Linked DNA regions of Homo sapiens: region 2 is linked to region 1. The links are contacts of gene promoters, found by promoter capture Hi-C in blood cells and fetal thymus (Javierre and others, 2016). All regions are on one chromosome and are shown on one strand. The core of a region is centred on a gene start or on the middle of the fragment in contact, and the rest is flanking DNA. Distances in the headings are between cores, read along the strand shown. Region 1 holds the start of VGF (VGF nerve growth factor inducible). Region 2 has its middle 3.8 kb from the start of EMSLR.

Region 1 (5,538 bases), core at 2,449-4,948:
CTCCCCATCTCTGTCTCTTTCTCTCTCTCTTTCTTGGTGACTCATCTCTGCGGCGTTGCCCTCCCCCGCTTGCTGGGTCTCCCCTCCCCCACTCAGGAGTGGGTGGGGGTCTGAGGGCGAATGGGACCTCAGGACTAAAAATCAGGGTGGGCACCCCCTTCCCATCACTCATCATTCCAGACCCTCCCGTAGCCCCCAGCCCACCCCTCAGTCCCTTCCCCAGGATTCCCCAGCTCTGGGATGGGGAGAGGATAGGGCAAGAGTGTGTTCTAAATGGGGCAATTTTCAGGGGGCCTTCAGCATCTTCTGTAAGTTCAAAGTGGAGACCCCTTCCCCTCTCATAAAGTGCCCCCTCCCTGCCTGCCCCTCCACCATGGCTGACGCAGTTAAAGGCTGCAGAGGTGAGTCACCGGTTGGGGGGAGGGGGAGGAGAAGAGGGGACCGGTGAGCTTCGGGGTCCACAAGCCCCTGCTCTCTCTTTCTCTCCCAGACCTTCTCAGGGAAAAGACCCAGTGCTCTTCCCCACTCTCCTGGTTTTCCACATCTTCAGCTTGGAACCCTACGATGCTGGACCCCATCTTCTCCAGCTACCCTCTTGGAGGGAGATTTAGAAACAAATACAAAGAGAGATGATGGATTCACACAAACAAGTCAGAACCAATACCAGGCATCCCCAACTAGGTCCCCATATGGGCTCTGCCTTTTCCAGCACTCTGTCTCTCCCAGTCTCTTCACTTCTCTTTCTTTTTCTACTGTCTCCCTCCTTTCCCTATCCCAAGAACCTGTGCCCAGTCCAGAAGCCCCTAGAGGCAGCAGGGTATGAAGGGCACAGCTCACCCCCAGTAGAGGCGAGTAGTGTGTGAATGAGCTGACCCAGGTAGGGAACTGGGATGGAGAGAGGCAGAAACAGAATGAGTCCAGAGACCATGCAGACAGAGTCAAGACCCAGATTGTGGAATCTCCAAGCCTTTTGTGCCCCAGGCATTCATATCCACCCCGCTCCCTCACGACAGGACGACTGGAGCCTTGGGGATGCTGATTTCTGAGAAACTCTCCTGGGCTTGTGAGCTTAAGTGGAGGAAGGGAGGGATGTGGAGTGGGGGCATGTGTGTGCTTACACACACATTGTTGTGTACCACCAAGCCAGGCACACTTTTTGGACACCAGCGGATGCCCAGAACTGGGTGTGCTCAAAGACTCCAAACTGCATGGGCATACAGGCATGCAGAAGAGATAAAAAAAAAAAACAAAAAAAAACAACCCAGCACACACACACGCGCGCGTGCACACACACCCACACCTGGAAGCAAACACAAACACAGCCACACAGACTGGAATAGAACATCACATAGTTAAATTGGAAACACTACCATGCCCATCCACTCTTGATCTGATTAAATACACAATTGCTTCCCCCCATTCCCTTTCTTTTTCTCCCCGCCCCGGCCATGTATCTCATTCATCTCCATACACACATAAACACACATGCACAAGCCATGTACATGTACACGCAGGTGTGTGTGCATACACAAGCCAACAGGCAAATACAGTTTCTCCAGGTGCCCGTCTTCTCTCATCTTGCAACTTGGTCTCTGATCCCCATCAGCCACTCAGTCAGCCCCCTTGGCTCCCTCCCTCCCCTCTCCCTTCTCTCTTGGATGGCTTCCCCTCCCCCTCTCCAGATGTCTGAGCCATCTCTCTCTGATTCATCCTCCTCAGGAAGGTAACGTGACCCCCTCCCCATCCCACTGCTCTCTGTATCCAGGCTGGGAAGATGAAGGGGACATGGGGGCGGGGAGAGGAAGGAGGGGAGGCCGTGGTTAGTTGTGCGTGGGGATGGGAGGCATCGCCTCGGGGTCTCCTACCCCCTCTTTTCCCTCCTTTCTTTGGAATCTCCACTGTCACCTTGGTTCTCAGTTTTTTTTTCTCCTTTAGCCTGCTCCTTCTACCTGTTCCAGATCCCTTCATTCCTTCCTCCTCCCCTGCCCCCATCTCTTCTCTCTTTTCTCCCTCTCCACTCCTCCCCATTTCTTTCCCCGCAGAGCTGATGGGCTTTCTTCTGGGAAAGTCGAGCCACTGATGGAAGCGAGAAGCCACTGCTGGTTATAGAGAGAAAGCACGTGAGTGTGTGTGTAGGGAGGGGGAGGTTAGAAGGAGGGTCAGTGCCAGGAAGAGGTGAGGAGGGGGGCGAGGACCGTTTCTGAAAGAGTCTCTAAGACCCTGACAGACAGCCCTGACCTTGGTTTCCAGAGTCTCAGGGTGCGGGTGCCCTGCGTGTGCCCACGAGCACCCCTATGTCCGCAGTTCGTGTGTGTCTGGCGTGTGTCATTGTCATTCCCCCCTTCCCTGCCCACGCCCCCGCACCGCTCTCTGCCAGCACCGCAGCCCCCTCCAGGCTTCCTCCCTCCCTCCCCTTCATTCCTGCAGTGGCTGCCCCCCTTGCCACCCTCTCCTCTCCCCTGCCCCCTCCCCATTTCCGTCCTCCCCCCCACCCCCGCCCACGGCTGGTCTCCCTTCACCGGACCCAGCTCTCTGATGGATTCTCTTTGCGCAAATCTGTGCGTCATCGCCCCCCACCCCCGGAACCTCTAGCTGTCCAAGCCCCCAGCCCCAACCTCTCTGGCAGGAGATACGGTCGAAGGGGCTGGTGGCAGAGAGGGGCTATCTCTGACGTTGCAGGTCCCCCTCCCATCGCGTTCAAACCTTCCCTTTAAGCGGTGGAGAGAGCTGGAGTTGAGTCACCCCCCCCCCACCTGCGCAACCCCCTCCCCACCTGCTCTGGTCTCGCCCTCCAAACGTCCTTGGGGGAGGGGAGCGGCAGGAGGGAAAGCGACTGGGGGAGTGTGGGAAGAGATGGGCCGAAGGGGGCACAGCGGGGGGCCTTGACACAAGCGGCAGTCAGGGGACAGAAGGACAGACACACCTTTTTCTCCAGACACAGCACGGATCGTGAAACAGACACGACCCAGAGGCACACACATCCTCATTCTTTCCCTTTTCTCTTCCGACTCGGACCCTTCCCGATGGGATTACCAAAACCGCAAGATCCACCCATCTGCCCCTGTCAGGGGGCTGCCACCCGCACTGCCGATTCGCGGACAGCGCCCGCAGGCGTGCAGATCTGTCCCTCTGCACTCAGGTTCACGCCGTCCTTGGGCGCGTGGTCTCGGGGTGGGGAACCCGGCCCCCTGGTCGGCTCTTGAATCTTTATCCTTCCCCTCCCCAGTATTGAGCTCCCACTGGTGCCCAGTCAGACGCTGGGACTACCCTTTTTCTATTCCACTCAGCAACGCGGGCTCCATCCAGCAGCTCCAAGTTGCTCTGCAACCCACCCTCCCGCCTTCCAGCGCCTCTGCATCCACCCTTCCATTCATTCTCCCATTCATTCATTCATCCTTTTCTCCTCGTCCCTCCTTCATTCATTCATAGCCCCCCGCCCTGCCCGCTTCAGCATTTCATTCATTCATTCATTCATTCATTTCCCGGAGCTCCGCTAGCGCACACCCCTTCAGCCGAAGGCCCCAGCGCGCAGGCGCAGGCCGGGAGAGGCAGGCACCCTCCAATCGTCGGGCGTCCTTCCTCCTCCGGGCGGCCGCCCGCTTCCCCATGAATGAACATTGACGTCAATGGGGCGGGGCGCGCCCACGTGACCCCGCGCGCTCCCCTTTATAAGGCGGTGGAGGCGCGGGCGCTGTCCAGCGTGCTGAAGCCGGAGCGAGCTAGCCGCCCGGAGCCGCGCCGACCCAGCTGAGCCCAGCCCACGGGACGCCAGACCTCGACCGTCGCTCCTACCCCGGCCACCGCTCGGAGCCGAGGCGGACGCGTCCCGATCTTCCCCTGTCCCCACCCTGCCCCGACCCTCCTCTCCACCTCTCGCGTCGTGACACCAGCTGGTAAATACTCCGCTGTTCGTCCCTCAAACCCTCGGCAGCCAGCCGTGGGCGTGAGGGAGGGTTCTCTCTCCTCTCGATGGGGGTGTTGCAAACACAGCGGGGAGCCCCCTGGTAAGGGTCCCCGGTAAACGGGGGAGTCGCAGCTTTTTCTCTTGCTGCTGAAGTCGCCCACGCACCATCCGGGGAGTCCTACGGGGAGGGAGCAGAGATTTTTTTTTCCCCCATATTGCTGCTGCTTAGTACGTGGGCGATGGCAGTGAGATGGCTCAGGGAAGGGGCCGAGGAGGCCCTGGGTAAGCGAGGGCTTCGGGGGTTATTTTCCCATTTACACGGCTCCAGAGATCGGCACAACATCTTCCTCCTTTGCTCCTAAACGTTCCTCTTCTGGGTAAGGTTTGGGGGATCAGGGAAGCCCCGGGTTTCCTGCTGAAAGGTGGGGGAAGGGAACGTAGACCTAGAGAGGGGAATTCTTACAGAAATCCTCTTTTTTTGGTCCCTTCTATTTTTCAGTCTCCGGCAGCCTCTTGGTCATGAAAGCCCTCAGATTGTCGGCTTCCGCCCTCTTCTGCCTTCTGCTGATCAACGGGTTAGGGGCAGCACCCCCTGGTCGCCCTGAGGCGCAGCCTCCTCCTCTCAGCTCTGAGCATAAAGAGCCGGTAGCCGGGGACGCAGTGCCCGGGCCAAAGGATGGCAGCGCCCCAGAGGTCCGAGGCGCTCGGAATTCCGAGCCGCAGGACGAGGGAGAGCTTTTCCAGGGCGTGGATCCCCGGGCGCTGGCCGCGGTGCTGCTGCAGGCACTCGACCGTCCCGCCTCACCCCCGGCACCAAGCGGCTCCCAGCAGGGGCCGGAGGAAGAAGCAGCTGAAGCTCTGCTGACCGAGACCGTGCGCAGCCAGACCCACAGCCTCCCGGCGCCGGAGAGCCCGGAGCCCGCGGCTCCGCCTCGCCCTCAGACTCCGGAGAATGGGCCCGAGGCGAGCGATCCCTCCGAGGAGCTCGAGGCGCTAGCGTCCCTGCTCCAGGAACTGCGAGATTTCAGTCCAAGTAGCGCCAAGCGCCAGCAGGAGACGGCGGCAGCAGAGACGGAAACCCGCACGCACACGCTGACCCGAGTGAATCTGGAGAGCCCGGGGCCAGAGCGCGTATGGCGCGCTTCCTGGGGAGAGTTCCAGGCGCGTGTCCCGGAGCGCGCGCCCCTGCCGCCCCCGGCCCCCTCTCAATTCCAGGCGCGTATGCCCGACAGCGGGCCCCTTCCCGAAACCCACAAGTTCGGGGAAGGAGTGTCCTCCCCCAAAACACACCTAGGCGAGGCATTGGCACCCCTGTCCAAGGCGTACCAAGGCGTGGCCGCCCCGTTCCCCAAGGCGCGCCGGCCGGAGAGCGCACTCCTGGGCGGCTCCGAGGCGGGCGAGCGCCTTCTCCAGCAAGGGCTGGCGCAGGTGGAGGCCGGGCGGCGGCAGGCGGAGGCCACGCGGCAGGCCGCGGCGCAGGAAGAGCGGCTGGCCGACCTCGCCTCGGACCTGCTGCTCCAGTATTTGCTGCAGGGCGGGGCCCGGCAGCGCGGCCTCGGGGGTCGGGGGCTGCAGGAGGCGGCGGAGGAGCGAGAGAGTGCAAGGGAGGAGGAGGAGGCGGAGCAGGAGAGACG
Region 2 (6,284 bases), core at 3,674-6,173, 140 kb before region 1:
GGGTTCAAGCGATTCTCCTGCCTCAGCCTCCTGAGTAGCTGGGATTACAGGCGCACGCCACCATGCCCTGCCTAATTTCGTATTTTTAGTAGAGATGGGGTTTCACCATGTTGGCCAGGCTGGTCTCAAACTCTTGACCTCAGGTGATCTGCTCACCTCGGCCTCCCAAAGTGCTGGGATTACAGACGTCAGCCGCCGTGCCCGGCCTGCCTTATTCTTTTTTACAGCTAAATAATATCAATATAATCATCTATATTGGAATGTCACATATTGTTAGATGTTTGAAAAATCTTTTATGTTGAAATATGCATTTTTATAGATGGCCTTTGAACAGTATTGAAAAACATGATTTGGGGGTATAAATATGTTTAAATGTGAAATTTCAGAGAGATGATTTCAACAATCATTCCTTTCAAAGGTAAAGATGGGGCTGAGCACAGTGGCTCACGCCTGTAATCCCAGCATTTTGGAAGGCCAAGGCGGGCAGATCACCTGAGGTTGGGAGTTCGAGACCAGCTTGACCAACATGGTGAAACCCCATCTCTACTAAAAATGCAAAATTAGCCGGGCGTGGTGGCGCATGCCTGTAATCCCAGCTACTTAGGAGGCTGAGGCAGGAGATTCGCTGGAACCCAGGAGGTGGAGGTTGCGGTGAGCCAAGATGGCACATTGCACTCCCGCCCCGGCAACAAGAGTGAGACTCCATCTCAAAAAAAAAAAAAAAGAAATGTTTTGTTTTTATATTATAAACCTAAAAATTTAGTCACTCAGTATTTTTTCATATTTAACAATACTGCTATCTTGTGACAAACTATCCATAACATAAAATTTGCCAATCTAACCTTTATTTTATTTTTTTTTTTTTGAGATGGAGTCTCACTCTATTGCCAGTCTGGAGTGCAGTGGTGTGATCTTAGCTCACTGCAACCTCCACCTCCTGGGTTCAAGCCATCCTCCTGCCTCAGCCTCCCGAGTAGCTGAGACTATAGGCGTATGCCACCACGCCCAGCTAATTTTTGTATTTTCAGTAGAGACAGGGTTTCACCATTGTCGGCCAGGATGATCTCAAAGTCTTGACCTTGTGATCTGCCCGCCTCAACCTCCCAAAGTACTGGGATTACAGGCATGAGCCACCGTGCCCAGCCTGCCTCTTTAGCCTAGGCTGGAGTGGAGTGGTGCCATCTGGGCTCACTTCAACCTCCATCTCCTTGGCCCAAGCCATCCTCCCACCTTAGCCTCCCAAGTAGCTGAGACTACAGGATCGCACCACCACGACCAGCCAAATTTTTACTGTAGAGACGGGGTTTCACCATGCTCCCCAGACTGGTCTCAAACTTGCGAGCTGAATCCATCCACCCACCTTACCAGGACCAGCCCATTCTAACCATTTGGAAGTATACAGTTCAGTAGCATTAAATACACTCACATTGTTATGCAACCATCACCACCATCCATCTCCAGAACTTTCTATGATCCCTAACTGAAACTCTATAACCATTGAACAACTCCCCTTTCCTCCTTCCCCCAGGCCCTGGCAACCACCATTCTATTCTATTTTTTGTCTCTGATGTTGCCTCCTCTAAGTCCTTTATACAAGGGGAATCATATGGTATTTGTTTTTTTGTTACTGGTTTATTCCAGGTAACCTAATGATCTCAAGGTTCACCTGATTGCAGCATGTGTCAGAATTTCCTTCCTTTTTAAGGTGAGCATGGTGGCTCATGCCCATAATCCCAGCACTTTGGGAGGCCAAGGCAAGTGGATGACCTGAGGCCAGGAGTTCAAAACCAGCCTGGCCAACATGGCAAAACCGTCTCTACTAAAAATACAAAATTAGCCAGGCGTGGTGGCGCATGCCTGTAATCCCAGCTACTCGGAAGGCTGAGGCAGGAGAATTGCTTGAACCCAGGAGGCTTGAGGTTGCGGTGAGCCGAGATCACGCCATTGCACTCCAGCCTGGGCAACAAGAATGAAACTCCATCTCTAAATAAATAAATAAATAAGCCAGACATGGTGGGGCACACCTGTAATCCCAGCTACTCAGGAGGTCGAGGCACAAGAATCGTGTGAACCTGGGAGGTGGAGGTTGCAGTGAGCCGACGTCTCGCCACTGTACTCTAGCCTGGGTGACAAAGAGAGACTCTGTCTGGAAAACAAAACAAAAAACCTTCTTTCCTTAAGAAGGTAGAATAATATTCCATCATATGGCCAGACCACATTTTGTTTATCCATTCATCTGTTGGCTATTTAGGTGTTTCCAACTTTTGACTTTAGTGAGTACACTGTAGCAGCATGGGTGTACAGCTCACCCAGGATATTTTGGAAGATTGTTGGCATTTATCTCCAAAAGTTTATTTATTTATTTATTTTTTGAGACGGGGGTCTCACTCTGTCATCCAGGCTTGAGTGCAGTGGTGCGATCTCAGCTCACTGCAAGCTCCGCCTCCTGGGTTCATGCCATTCTCCTGCCTCAGCCTCCTGGTAGCTGGGACTACAGGCGCCCGCCACCACGCCCGGCTAATTTTGTTTCTATTTTTAATAGAGACGGGGTTTCAGCATGTTGGCCAGGCTGGTCTTGAACTCCTGACCCTAGGTGATCCACCCTCCTCGGCCTCCCAAAAGTGCTGGGATTATAGGCCTGAGCCACCTCACCTGGCAGAGTGTGTTTTCCAGACTATGACAATTGCCTGGTAATTTAGCTTAAATTACATTCACCTGTTAGGATTACTGTGCGTACTGTTAATGTCAACTGAATCAAATCATCTTTCCATGACTGCTGCCTAACAAGAATCCATCTCAGCCAGCCCGGTGGCTCATGCCTGTAATCCCAGCCCTTTGGGAAGCCGAGGCGGGTGGATCACCTGAGGTCAGGAGTTTGAGACCACCTTGGCTAACATGGTGAAACCCCATCTCTACTAAAAATACAAAAATAAGCTGGGTGTGGTGGTACACGCCTGTAGTCCCAGCTACTCTGGAGGCTAAGGCAGGAGAATCTCTTGAACCTGGGAGACGGAGGTTGCAGTGAACCGAAATCATGCCACTGCACTCCAGCCTGGGCGACAGAGCAAGACTCAGTCTCATTAAAAAAAAAAAAAAAAAATCGACCTCATAAAATTGATCATCTCAAAAAGAAATTATTCTCATTTCACTTTAATGATTATCCAAGACCCCAGTATAAGAATTAACCCAGCAGATTTCGTTCACATTAATGGCCAGAGTATAATAACCCTTTAAATCTTTAAGAAACATGCTTCAGATTTCAAGTTTTGAGAGTCTTTCTTCTTCTTGTTCTAGTCTATCACTGAAGCTTTTGAGTTTACTTTGTATTTCATCCAGTGATTTCTTCAGCTTCAGAAGTGTCGTTAGGTTGTATTTAATAATATCACTGGAGTTGATAATTTTTTCCTGCAGTACGGTAACTCCTTCCATCTTTTTTCTCTGTTCTTTTCCAAATGATGCTTGTATTATGCCCACAACTGTATAATATGTATATTCAATTCTCTCTCCAAAATGTCTTCTGTTTCTTTTGGATGGGGATCTGCTGCTGGAGAATTACTGGGTTCCGTTGGAGGCGCCCCATTTCCTTGCTTTTTCATGTTTTCTGTGTCCTTCCGTTGAGATCTGTGCATCCTGTGAAAGTGGCTTCTTCCAAGTTTGTGAACTCGCTTTGTAGGGGAGGACTTCTTCCTGAAAATGTAGATAGGGTGTTGGTTAGCTGGGGCACTTTGGCTTTGATTTGGGGTAGTACTGTAGGCTCTGTATGATTTCTTGGGTGGCTTAGGGTGTGGTTATTAGTGGAGGCTGTGGTTGCTGGGGACTAGGCGGCCAGGTGGGCCAGTATTTGGGCCCCAGTGGTGGCCTGATCTTACCTATTCTTTAGTCCCAGAGCAGTGCATGCTGGCTCTGTTATTAGCGGGTTGTGGGGAGTGATTCGTGTGTCTCTAGGTGCCCTGCTCTAATGCTGGTAGTGGCAGCCACTGGCTGGGGGTGTGGCTGATCTCAGGCGTTGGGGCAGTGGGTGTGATGTGGGCAGGGTAGTTGCAGTTGGGGGGGCAACCCTCCGGAATCCAGGCGGTCCCTGCTGGTGTTGGTGGTGGCTGACCAGGTTGGGCGGGCACGCGAGTCCCCGGGCCTGTAGGTAGCCTGAGGTGTTATCCGCAGGCTGGGCCCCTGAACTCAGACACCGGGGAGGAGTGTTCAGCCGCCAACGGTGGCGGAAGAGGCAGAATAGTCACCAATCCCCAGGCCTCCGGCCCGCGTGCGCAAGTCCTCAGGAGGCAGAACCACCAGCGGACTGTCCTGAGGGCCCCGGGGTTCGGTCGCTGGCTAGGACGGACAGGGAAGGGCTGGTCCCCAGGAAAGCTCAGGCGGGGTAGAGCAGGCAAGCGGTTGGTTCGCGTCTGAGTCCCGCGGTGGCGGTGGGGTTATTAGTCTTTTCGGACGTATGAAAGCCTCTGGCCTCCCCGCTCCCTCCCTGGCCCTCAGCTGGGCGGCGGCGGCTGCAGCTGCAGCTGCTCAGGGCAGGGAAGCCCGTGGGCTCCACGTGGGCTCCTGCAACGCCGCTGGGGAATCTCTCGCCCGCTGCCCCCTACTCTGGAGGTCCACGAGGGTCAGGGGGCTGTGGAAGTCCGTGGGGGGACTGCGGAGCCCCCGGGGTCTCTCACTCACCCTTTCCCCGCGCGCAGGGGCTGCAGGCCGTCCTAGCCGATCCGATTTCTCCGCGCAGGCTGCCTGGGTGCCTCTGCTCCGCTCCTCGGGCTCCCAGTGGCTTCTCGGCTGAATCCCGCGTTCTCTTAGCCGATCGGCTGCAAGTGTGAAAACCTACCGGCGCCTTCGGTTCCCGCCAGAGGAGAGGCGCGTGCCGGCGGCATCCACCAGGCCATCTTGAGCCTATGGTCCTAGGTGGGAATGGGTCCCAAGTGCGCGAGTTACTCAAGGGCGTTCCCTGGAGGGTCCGGGTCGGCCCCGCCCTCCCCTTCCAGACTGGTCCGCAAGCTCCGTGTGCACACAGGTGTGTTTGCTAATATAAATAGACTATTTGGCCGGGCACGGTGGCTCACGCCTGTAATTCCAGCACTCTGGGAGGCCGAGGCGGGTGGATCACCTGAGGTAGGGAGTTCGAGACCAGCCTGGCCAACATGGGGAAACCCCGTCTCTACTAAAAATAAAAATATCAGCCGGGCGTGGTCGCGGGCGCCTGTAATCCCAGCTACTTGGGAGGCTGAGTAACGAGAATCGCTTGAACCCGGGAGGCGGATGTTGTAGTGAGCCAAGATCGCGCCACTGCACTCCTGCCTGGGCGACAAGAGCGAGACTCCATCTCACCAAAAAAAAAAAAATCCTTTACGTTGATGTATGCATTTTTGGATGCTTTTTTCTTTTAATTTTAATTTTTTTTTTTTTGAGATGGATTCTAACTCTGTCGCCCAGCCTGGAGTGCAGTGGCGAGATCTCGGCTCCTGCAAAGCAAAAACGCCGTCTCCAAAAAAAAAGAATGATGAATTAACATGCTAGGGTGTGCTTGGCAAAGTGTGGTTCACTCCTGCAATCACAGCACTTTGGGAGGCTGAGGCAGGCAGACCACTTTGAGTTCAGGAGTTCAAGACCAGACTAGGCAACATGGTGAAACCCTGTTTCTACAAAAAGGTTCAAAAATTAGCCAGGAGGCTGGGCATGGTGGCTCAGCCCCTGTAATCCCAGCACTCTGGGAGGCCCAGGCGGGAGGATCACCTGAGGTCAGGAGTTCAAGACCAGCCTGACCAACATTGGGAAACCCCATGTCTACTAGAAATACAAAAACTAGCTGGATGTGGTGGCGGGTGCCTGTAATCCCAGCTAATCTGGAGGCTGAGGCACGAACCTGGGAGGCGGAGGTTGCAGTGAGCCATGATCGTGCCATTGCACTCCAGCCTGAGCAACAAGAGCAAAGCTCCGACCAAAAAAAAAAAAAAAAAAAATTAGACAGGCCTCATGGCTCATGCCTGTAGTCCCAGCTACTTGGGAGACTGAGACTGGATAATTGCATGAGCTCGGAAAATGGAGGCTGCAGTGAAATTGCACTACTGCATTCCAGCCTGGGTACAGAAAGACCACATCTCTAAATAATAAATAAATAAATAATAAAATGCTACAGTGTTTGTCAGGTTTGCAGCGAGGAGGGCTGACATGTAGCTGTGTGGGCAATCTGTTAGAGAGAGTGGCTTTTCTTGACCATGACAATGTACTTCAGCTACATTCACCTGTTAGGATTACTGTGCCTACTGAATTCAGTACTGATCAGATTC

What was found. Contacts are between HindIII fragments. The CHiCAGO score rates a contact against its expected background, and 5 or more counts as called.
Region 2: a contact is called between a fragment that was not itself captured here and the fragment with the promoter of VGF in region 1, in 1 of 17 cell types (endothelial precursors). The highest score is 5.0, in endothelial precursors.

The regions. Positions count from the first base shown.
Region 1 is chr7:101,163,729-101,169,266 of GRCh38, reverse strand. It overlaps VGF (VGF nerve growth factor inducible), which reads left to right and starts at 3,698. Exons shown (of 2, transcript NM_003378.4): 1 at 3,698-3,893; 2 at 4,404-5,538. The coding sequence starts at 4,424. RefSeq lists silencers at 283-453, 3,668-3,767, 5,530-5,538. The HindIII fragment of the contact is 10,392 bases long and covers 1-5,538 here.
Region 2 is chr7:101,301,413-101,307,696 of GRCh38, reverse strand. No RefSeq gene overlaps it. Among named protein-coding and RNA genes, the nearest start is that of EMSLR, 3.8 kb to the left of the region's middle. RefSeq lists enhancers at 4,186-4,888, 4,889-5,590. The HindIII fragment of the contact is 3,228 bases long and covers 3,310-6,284 here.